Regions from separate parts of the Homo sapiens genome. Here region 2 is linked to region 1. Evidence: promoter capture Hi-C in 16 types of primary human blood cells and fetal thymus (Javierre and others, 2016). All regions are on one chromosome and are shown on one strand. Each heading gives the region's core, a stretch centred on a gene start or on the middle of the fragment in contact. The rest is flanking DNA. Distances are from core to core; before and after follow the strand shown. Region 1 holds the start of BRD8 (bromodomain containing 8). Region 2 overlaps KLHL3 (kelch like family member 3).

Region 1 (4,670 bases), core at 2,171-4,670:
TTTGTTGCTATTGCTTTCTATATAGTGTTTTTGTTTTTATGGTGGCCACATATTACTTCAAAAATTAGATTTAAAAAACAAACAAAAAAAATGCTAGGAAGCATGACAATCAGCAAAGTACTGAATTGTTTATAAATGTGGCAAGAGAGTTAAATTCATAATGGATGATTCAAAAGAAAGGGGGTGAGGGGCTGATACCGAGAAAGGTAAAATGATGATAGTTCTAGGCTGGGAGTGATGGCTCACGCCTATAATCCTAGCACTTTAGGAGGCTAAGGTGGGAGGATCACTTGAGCCCAGGAGTTCAAGACCAGCCTGGGCAACAAGTGACAAAAAACACAAAAAATTAGTCAAGCATGGTGGCAAGGGTCTGTATTCCCAACTACTCAGGATGCTAAACTGGGAGGATCACTTGAGGCCAAGAGTTGGAGACCAGCCTGGGGAACATAGTGGGACCTCGTCTCTACAAAAACATAAATATTTAAATTAAAAAAAAAAAAAAAGTTCAGCCTGGGCAACATGGCAAAACCCCATCCCTACCAAAAAATACAAAAATTAGCCAGGGGTGATGGCATGTGCCTGTAGTCCCGGCTACTCAGGAGGCTGAGGCCGGAGGATCACTTGAGCCCAGGAGGCAGAGGTTGCAGTGAACCACGATCGCACTACTGCACTCCAGCCTGGGTGACAGTGAGACCCTGTCTGCAAAAAAAAAAAAAAAAAAAAAAAAAAGTCAAACATAATAAAGTTACTACATAACCCAGCAATTTCACTCCTTGAATAAAAAACTCAAGAGAATTAAAAACATTGTCCACAACCTTGTACACGAATGTGCACATCATCAGCATTATTCATAATGGCCAAAAAGTGGAAACAACCCAATTGTCTATCAAGTGATGGATAAATAAAACTTGGTATATTCATACAACAGATTATTATTCAGCTAAAAAAGGAATTAAGTATTGATACATGCTACATAAGAATGAACCTTAAAAAGTGTTATGTCAAGTGATTAAAAAAAACAAAAAAAAGTCCAGAAGAGCACGTATCATTCCATTTGTATGAAATATCCAGAATAGGCAAATCTACAGAGACAAGAGAGTTGGCTGGGTATGGTGGCTCACACTTGTAATCCCAGCACTTTTGGAGGCCAGGACTGGTGCATTACTTCAAGACCAGCCTGGACAAAACCTCATCTCTACTAAAAATACAAAAATTAGCCAGGCCACTCGTGGCGCATGGCTGTAATCCCAGCTACTTGGGAGGCTAAGGCACGATAATCGCTTGAACCTGGGAGGCGGAGGTTGCAGTGAGCCAAGATCTAACTACTACACTCCAGCCTGTGTGACAGTGAGACTCTGTCTCAAATTAATTAATTAATTAATAGAAAGTAGATGAGTGCTTGCTTGGGGGTGGTGAGGAGGGGACAACATGGACTGACAGTTAAGGAGTAAGGGGTTTTTCTTAGAATAAAATGTTCTAAAATTAGATTGTGGTGATGGTTGCACAACTGTGAATATACTAAAAACCATTATATTGTACATTTTAAGTAGGTTAATTTTATAGTATGTGAATTATATCTCAATAAAGCTGTTTAAAAAAAGAAATACAGCTGGCCTGGTGGCTCACACCTGTAATCCCAGTAGGTTGGGCGGATCGCTCGAACGCAGGAGTTCGAGACCAGCCTAGGAAACATGATGAAACCCCCATCTCTACAAAAAAATAAAAAAAATTAGCTGGGCATGGTGGTGTGCACCTGTAGTCCCAGCTACTCAAGAGGCTGAGGTGGAGGATCATTTGAGCCTGAGATATGGAGGTTGCAGTGAGCCAAGATCACACCACTGCCCTCCAGCCTGGGCCACAGAGTGCAATCTTGTCTCAAAAAAAAAAAAAAAAAAATAGGCCTGGCAGTGGCTCACGCCTGTAATCCCAGCACTTTGGGAGGCCGAGGCGGACAGATCATGAGGTCAGGAGATTGAGACCATCGTGGCCAACATGGTGAAACCCCGTCTCTACTAAAAATACAAAATTAGCCAGGCATGGCCAGGCGCAGTGGCTCACACCTGTAATCCCAGCACTCTGGCAGGCCGAGGTGGGGGGATCACCTGAGGTCAGGAGTTCGAGACCAGCCTGGCCAACATGGCGAAACTCTGTCTCTACTAAAAAATACAAAAATTAGCTGGGCGTGTCCGCACCACTGCACTCCAGCCTGGGCAACAGAAGGAGACTCAGTCTCAAAAAAAGAAGAAAAAGAAAAGAAAGTCTACTTACAGCTTAATATGATTAACTATAGAAATCTACCGATGTGAAAGAGTATCTAACAATTTCTAAGACCCAGAAAAGCTGACATCCTAGATACCTTACCAATTTTGATCGCCACTTCTCATGACAGAAGATGCTAAACATAGCTTCTCTCGGATGGACCATGGCTCTGTGGGGCCAGTGCTTAGCAGCTTGTGTTCTGGGAAAGGGAGAAAAAAAAAAAAGCCTTGGAAACAACCACTGAGACTGTAGTGCTAAGCTCCAAAATCCCCAAAAAGAGGACTAAAAGCCTAATACAAAACATCCCAACTTGTTAGGACAAAGTGAGCTACTATAACCAAATCTTGATTTTCACCTCTCCAAGTGAAATATCACCAGTGACCGGGGTACCTATTCGTTGCATGTGAATTATTAACATTTTATTTCTTAAAACGCCATGGCTTGAAGCTCCGCTTTATTAAGAAACAGGGAATGTCAGATTAGGCAGTTCTCCCTAAAAGCCCAGTTTTAAGAATACTGGACTTTATTCCAGTTTGAACTTATTCAGGGCTTATTTCCCAGGAACCCGAGCGGCCAGCCCCTCCTACTACCCCGCCTCCCTCTTAGCATAAACTTGTTTACTTCTCTCAGATCCTCTACTCCAAATGTCGGGGGTAAAAGAGCTTTTCAGTCCAAAAAAAGAAAAATGGCTGAAATCCCCGAGATGCAATTTCCTGAGTGGCAAGAAAAGCTCATGGTTAAAAGACCCCACTTCCACTGCCTCACAAACGTCAGACAAAAAAATGAATGGCTCTTTGAGGTGCCGGTTACTCCGTCTGGCTCATAACATCTTTTCGTCTGCACGCCCAAGTTTCTAGAGTGCTTTTACGGTTAACCCGCAGAGTTCCTAACACACTAGGATTCACTAAGCTGCTTCTCTCACACCTCCGCTCTCTCCCTGAGAAACAAGACCCCAGATTTCTGGGCCCCCAAACGTTGGTCTTCACGATGCTGTAGAGCGCAGGTCTCTGAAAACCCTGGGCTCTCAAGCAACCCACTTCTCCCACTCCCTAAGCGTGTAACAAAAATATGGTGCCTAGCCTCGGATCTACAAAGGCCTTTCACGCAAAACCTGCTCAGATACTCACTGCCCGTTCCCGTCGCCATCTTGGCCCCGAAGTCTCCAACCCTGAGGAGAGACGGTCTGGAAGGGCCGAAACCCTGGAATTCTGGGAAATAGTGTACCGGCGTTGGTTCGCGGTGCCTCCTGGGAAATGTCGTTTTTCCCCTTAAGACAAAGCAAGCACCCTAAACCAGTTACCCTGTGCACTCCTGTTAAGATTGTTGCTAAGGAAGGACAGGAGTTGGCTGCTGAAGCCTCAAGATTTCCTTTAGGCTCTTAGGTAAGAAATGTCTAAGGTTCAAGGAAAAAGGTTAAGTTGGAAGAATCCCAGGCAAAATAAGTGCGAATCCACGACAGTTGGTAACCCGGACCCACATTAGAACTCAGAGGTCAAGCAGAAGCGAACGACTGGAATTCCAGTCAGGCCCGCCCCCTTTCCTTACGCGGATTGGTAGCTGCAGGCTTCCCTATCTGATTGGCCGAACGAACGCAGCGCGTAATTTAAAATATTGTATCTGTAACAAAGCTGCACCTCGTGGGCGGAGTTGTGCTCTGCGGCTGCGAAAGTCCAGCTTCGGCGACTAGGTGTGAGTAAGCCAGTATCCCAGGAGGAGCAAGTGGCACGTCTTCGGGTGAGTGTGCGGCTGTGCTGGAGCCCGGGTTACCAGCTCTTGCCCGCGCGGAATAGGCTTTAAGAAATCGGAGCTGCAGCCATCTGTTTTTCTCTTAATGCTGCATCTCTGTTCTCACGGTGGTCCTTGGGGTGAGGTTAGAGAAGGAGCCGAGGGATCCTGACACCACCTCCACAGCACCGGCGGGCGAGGTGCCCTACTTTAGGCGTAGCCTTCTGCTTTTGGAGCCAGATGTCTGTGGACTTCTGTTCGCGTTCAGAAATGCCGCCTCAAACTTCTCTCAATTGTTCATTAAGTGAACTTCTCTCATTCCCTTCCCCTTTGCCGATAATTGGAGGGGAAAAGAAGTAGGAAGCGGGACACGGTGTCCTGGGGCAAGGGACTTATTACCTAAAATTCGCGGCCCCTTCTGTCCCTAAAGGTTCTTCTCCCTGCCCACTTTTTGGTCTCTTTTTAGACCTAGGCTGCCCCTGCCGTCATGTCGCAAGGGATCCTTTCTCCGCCAGCGGGCTTGCTGTCCGATGACGATGTCGTAGTTTCTCCCATGTTTGAGTCCACAGCTGCAGATTTGGGGTCTGTGGTACGCAAGAACCTGCTATCAGACTGCTCTGTCGTCTCTACCTCCCTAGAGGACAAGCAGCAGGTAAAGGAACTGGGGAGTGGCTGGGGCGGAAAGT
Region 2 (4,670 bases), core at 848-3,347, 520 kb before region 1:
AGCCATGGTGTGAAATGAGAAGTCAGGGTGGGGGTGAGAGGGAGCTCTGAGTTATTCTCAAACCTCCCTGATGACATTGGAGGTTACCTTGAAACTCTTAGGAAAGGAAGACCCCAGAAGAGAGAGGTACCAGCAGATTCAAGAGGAACCAGCAGACTCCATCTCCTAGGTTGTAAATGCAACCAAGATGCAGGGCAGCCATGGGTGAGGAAAGACTTGGAGGCAGGAGTGGAAGGCCACTTTCCCAGGGCACAGTCCTGACTCTTGGTGGTGATTGGGCTGGGGCTTACCTTGGGAAGGCTGACTGGAGTCCTGGGCTTGGTCCTTGGGTTCTTAATCAATAGTCTCTGATCCAGAGGGAGGAGATGGTATTTCATGGCCTCAATGAGGAAGTCTTTACAGGTGTTGTTATTCTTTATCAAAGCTTCTTCTTCAACCGTCTAGAGGTAATAATCCACAGATGATCCTGGAGCACAGCTCAGCCACATTTCCCAAGCTTTCACCCTGGGCTCAGTCATTCCTGCACTCCCACACTCATTCATTCCTTCACCACATCATCTCAGACCCAAAGAGTTACAACTTACTGCTCACCTCCTGCATTTTAAGAGCACAGTGGGATAAGGGATCAAGCTCTGGCATTAGACCAGATCCACTACTTAACGTCTCTGATCCTCAGTTTCCTCATCTGTAAAATGGGCATATTAAAGGTATCTACAACCTCACTAGTTTTGTTTGTTTTGAGGCTTAAATGAGTTTATGCAAAACAAAAGACAAGTAGCCATCCTGAAAGCCTCTAACCACATTTCTCCTGATTTGAATGCATTATAATGCTTAGGGCAAACAGACATCTGAGAGGAGGAGTGAGGGGAAAGAGGAAAGGGTGTGGGAGCCATCAGCCAACCTTTGGAGGCATTGAGTAAAATAAGCTTGTCAAGGAGAAAGATTCATATTCGTTGTCTTATAGTGAAGGTCTCAGGGCAGAAAATCGGCCAGTGAGGCTCCTTCTAACAGAGTAACAACATCAGAGCAGAAAAATTACCCTGCACAAAGTCCCACCTATTGACCTCACCTAGGACTCCATCTAAGCTGGGGCTCTGGCTTCTTTATCTCTTATTCCAGAGCTTAGGACCTAAGCAGGTGCTCAGCACATGTAAGCCTAAAGGTTTCATGAGCAAGACCAAGCATGAAGCCATTCTGGTGCTCTAACTCTCCAATCCCCACCTTTTGGCCCAGGTCAGATCACTGTGTGGCATATCTGGAATGGGTAATGTGGTCTTCTGGGGCTGCTTTGTGTTAGGAAAGATCAATTCCATTCAACAGCTAACACTGATTGAATGTCTCCTGGTTGGGCAGCCCTGTGCTGGTCCCCAGGAAGAAAATGATGAACAAGACAAAATTTCTGACCCTGAAGAATTCAAGTCCAGTCAGAGAATGAGAAGGGCCTCCCACCTCAATTATCTCAGCCCTCAAGTCAGTGATGCACAAGGCATGACTGAGCCTCTCCTGGGTCCCCATCTGTCACTAGGAATGAAAGCATGGCCAGGGCCATCATCTGCTGGGCAGCATTGGAGCTGGCAGGGAAAAAAGGATTGGCAAGAGAAGGCCTCTGTGTACCTCTGACCACCTCCCTCCCCAGAGACAGTCCCCAAGAACTGTTTTCCTTGGAAGGTTTTTTTTTCCCCTCCCAGTAAGGAACTGAGCCAGCTTGAGACAAATCATAAACTTCTAGGGTCAATTACAAAATAAAAAGGGTGGGAGAGGATGCCTGAAAAAGCTTGGAAGGAAGGAGAAATGCATGAGCAGCTATTTCTCCAGAAGAACTTACTCAGCTTGAATTAAAAGTTCTCCTGGAAAGTTAGTGCTTCATGGGTACAAGAGTTTCAACTTTGGGGGTGATGACAAAGTTTTGGAAATCTTTATAGTAATGGTTGTACTGAATTTGAATGTAATGAATGCCTCTAAATTGTACACTTAAAATGGTTAAAATAACAAAGTTTATGTAATAAACATTTTATCACAACATATTATACATTTAGTACAATATTTTTAAATGCTGAGTAAAAGCCTAATAAATGCTACCTTTTGTGAAAGAAAAAAAAACCTCCCCCAGAAGTCAGGCAGTGTTGGTGGAGGTCTGCCCAGGGCTTTCCCTTCCTTCTCCTCCTCCTCCTCCACCACCATCAGCCATCCCAGCAATTATACTCATTTGAAGTTTCAAAGTCAAATGAATGTAATGAAACATCCTATTCCAGAGGTGTTCACTCTGAGAGGCCTGATAAAAGGCCTTTCTGCAAAAAGGGCAAAGGGAGGAGTCCCACACAACAGTTCTCATGCCCATTGCCTCTGACCCCCTTCTTTTCCAGATCTAAATTCTGCTTTGGCATAATAACCCAGGAGCCATTTCCTAATGGTGACGTTTGTTAAGCTTCAGTTGTGGATGCCTGATGAAGTTTGTGACCAACGGTCTCTAAGGCCACTTTAGCTTTCTCTGGAACCCAGGTCCCCAGGTTGCCAACCCTCCCTGTGGAAGCGAGACTATACTGGAGTCCAGGTGCCTCCTCCACCTCCAGCCAGCTTCCCACAGGACAGTGGGAGGTTTGACTGACACTGGATGCTCAGGCAAGTTCACTTCCTCCGCTTAGGGGACCTTTTCTACAGGAAAGATATGCTGCCACCAGGTGGCAGTGGTATCACCCAAAGTAGCATGCATGCCCCATTTAAGAGCTTGCAAGCATATCCCTCAGCACCTGAGAAGGCTGAAGTACGGCGATTCAGGGAACATTTCACTGACCCCTCATATCTGCAATCTACAAGTGTTACCAGCAGACGAGTTTACAAGTGCTCGTGAGGATACTGTGTCACCTGCTACTAAGAATCACAGCAGTGGTCACAAAGACTACAGAGTAAGATCAGTAACATTCACTGAACACTGTATTATAGGCCTACATGGATTATCTCATTTTATTGTTTATCCCCAAACAATCCTATAAAGGCAAGTGCCATTTTTTCCCGGTAAGAAAACTGAGGTTTAAAAAGGTTAAGCATGTACCCAGTATTATATGGCTGGAAAGTAACAAGAGCTGGGCTGCTGGGCTGCTAGGCTGCTAAACCTCCTCTTTATCCTTGCATCATATCTTCCCTTCCTTCCAGAGACTCCTTGGAGACAGCTGAGGGCTAACCTGCTGTCTCGATGTTTTGTTTTGTTCATATATTTTAAGGTTTATTCTCTGCTTATAAAAGTGTCTAATGCCATTTACTGTATAAAATAAGTCACGTAATGGGTATGCAGAAAAGAGCGTATCAATGGTGGCAGCTAGCTTAGCGGAAGAACTATGCACTGCAGAGCCAGAATGACATGGATTTGAATCCTGAGCCTCTCTAAGGCTAGTGACCCCGATAAATCCCAACCTCCATAAGCCTCAAGGCCTACATGTGTAAAAAAAGGAGTTACAATCTTTGCCCCTCTGGGTTATTATAAGGATTAAACGAGAAAACATATGGCACCATAAGGAAACCCCATAATTCTTAATTTTTCTTTCCTTTTCAGAGGAAGTGGAAGTACTCTGTATTCTAGGCACCGTTTTTACAGTCTTGAATTTGGCTTCAAGTTGCCTAAAACTAAGACATAAAGGGAACATAGAAACATTGTGGACATGACCCTTCTTGCTTCAGTCCTCTTCAACAAAGACAGCTAACTTTCATGGAACATTTGTTACCCCAGGCTCCACACGAAGCAGCTGACTTGCATACTCTACTCCTTTAGTCCTCACAACAACCCTGCTGGGCTCTACTATAATATCTGTTCTATGGAAGAAAAACTGAGGCTTGAAGAGGTTAAATAAAAATCCAAAACTAATAAGCAGCAGAGCAGAGACTGAAACCTAAGTGTCCTATTTTCAAGCCTATGCTCTTAAACTTTACAACACCTAACACTTAACCCAGTGGGCTGGTTCCCTCAGCACATACAGAAGACCCACTAAACCCTCAACTACTCCATCCAACCAGGATTGCCCATTGCTATTCCTACAGGTCTGGGTGAACACAGAAGTGCTTGGCTCTTCATACAACACTCACTTGGACTAGGTAGTCCCTAGGTAAGAGAGGAAGTCGGACATGTTCCATCAGCTTTGCCATGTGCTCTAAACGGGTTTCTTTCTCATAATTGATCCATGAGATCACAGCTTCAAACACCTATAAAGAAAAGCAACATGGGCAACTTCAGTAAAGAGACAAAAGCTTTCAAACAACCCTCAATCTGTAAAAAAAAAAAAAAAAGAGAGAGAGAAAAAGTTATGAGTCATCCACAAAGGTGTTTAATTAATCTGAGACTCATATTTAAAATAAAAACAGAAAGGGTTTGTTTACTTGCTGGCCTCAGAGAGTGATCACACACACACTCTACACACACACACACACACACACACACACACACACACACACACACAAGGACAAACCTGCTATCCCAAATGTAGAATCATCATGGTTCATTCTAAAATAAAAACCAGTTCCAATAGTTTTTTAAGGGTAAAAATACAGAGCAGTAACTGTGAACCAAATTTATAGAGGCTGCTCAGGAAGATCAGACCCTGGGGGCAATGTCGTCATCTCCCCATGCCCCCGTTTCCTCACTTATGTCCCGTGTAAAGTTAATGTAGAATAAAAACAGTAAG

What was found. Contacts are between HindIII fragments. The CHiCAGO score rates a contact against its expected background, and 5 or more counts as called.
Region 2: a contact is called between a fragment that was not itself captured here and the fragment with the promoter of BRD8 in region 1, in 1 of 17 cell types (naive CD4 T cells). The highest score is 5.3, in naive CD4 T cells.

The regions. Positions count from the first base shown.
Region 1 is chr5:138,175,210-138,179,879 of GRCh38, forward strand. BRD8 (bromodomain containing 8) reads right to left here and starts at 3,421. Exons shown (of 27, transcript NM_139199.2): 1 at 3,387-3,421; 2 at 2,362-2,458. The coding sequence starts at 3,405. It overlaps KIF20A (kinesin family member 20A), which reads left to right and starts at 3,903. Exons shown (of 19, transcript NM_005733.3): 1 at 3,903-3,993; 2 at 4,451-4,636. The coding sequence starts at 4,472. RefSeq lists enhancers at 3,371-3,665, 3,373-3,422, 3,563-3,732. The HindIII fragment of the contact is 9,650 bases long and covers 1-4,670 here.
Region 2 is chr5:137,657,841-137,662,510 of GRCh38, forward strand. It overlaps KLHL3 (kelch like family member 3), which reads right to left. Exons shown (of 15, transcript NM_017415.3): 7 at 4,075-4,191; 8 at 291-440. Among named protein-coding and RNA genes, the nearest start is that of MIR874, 13 kb to the left of the region's middle. The HindIII fragment of the contact is 651 bases long and covers 1,773-2,423 here.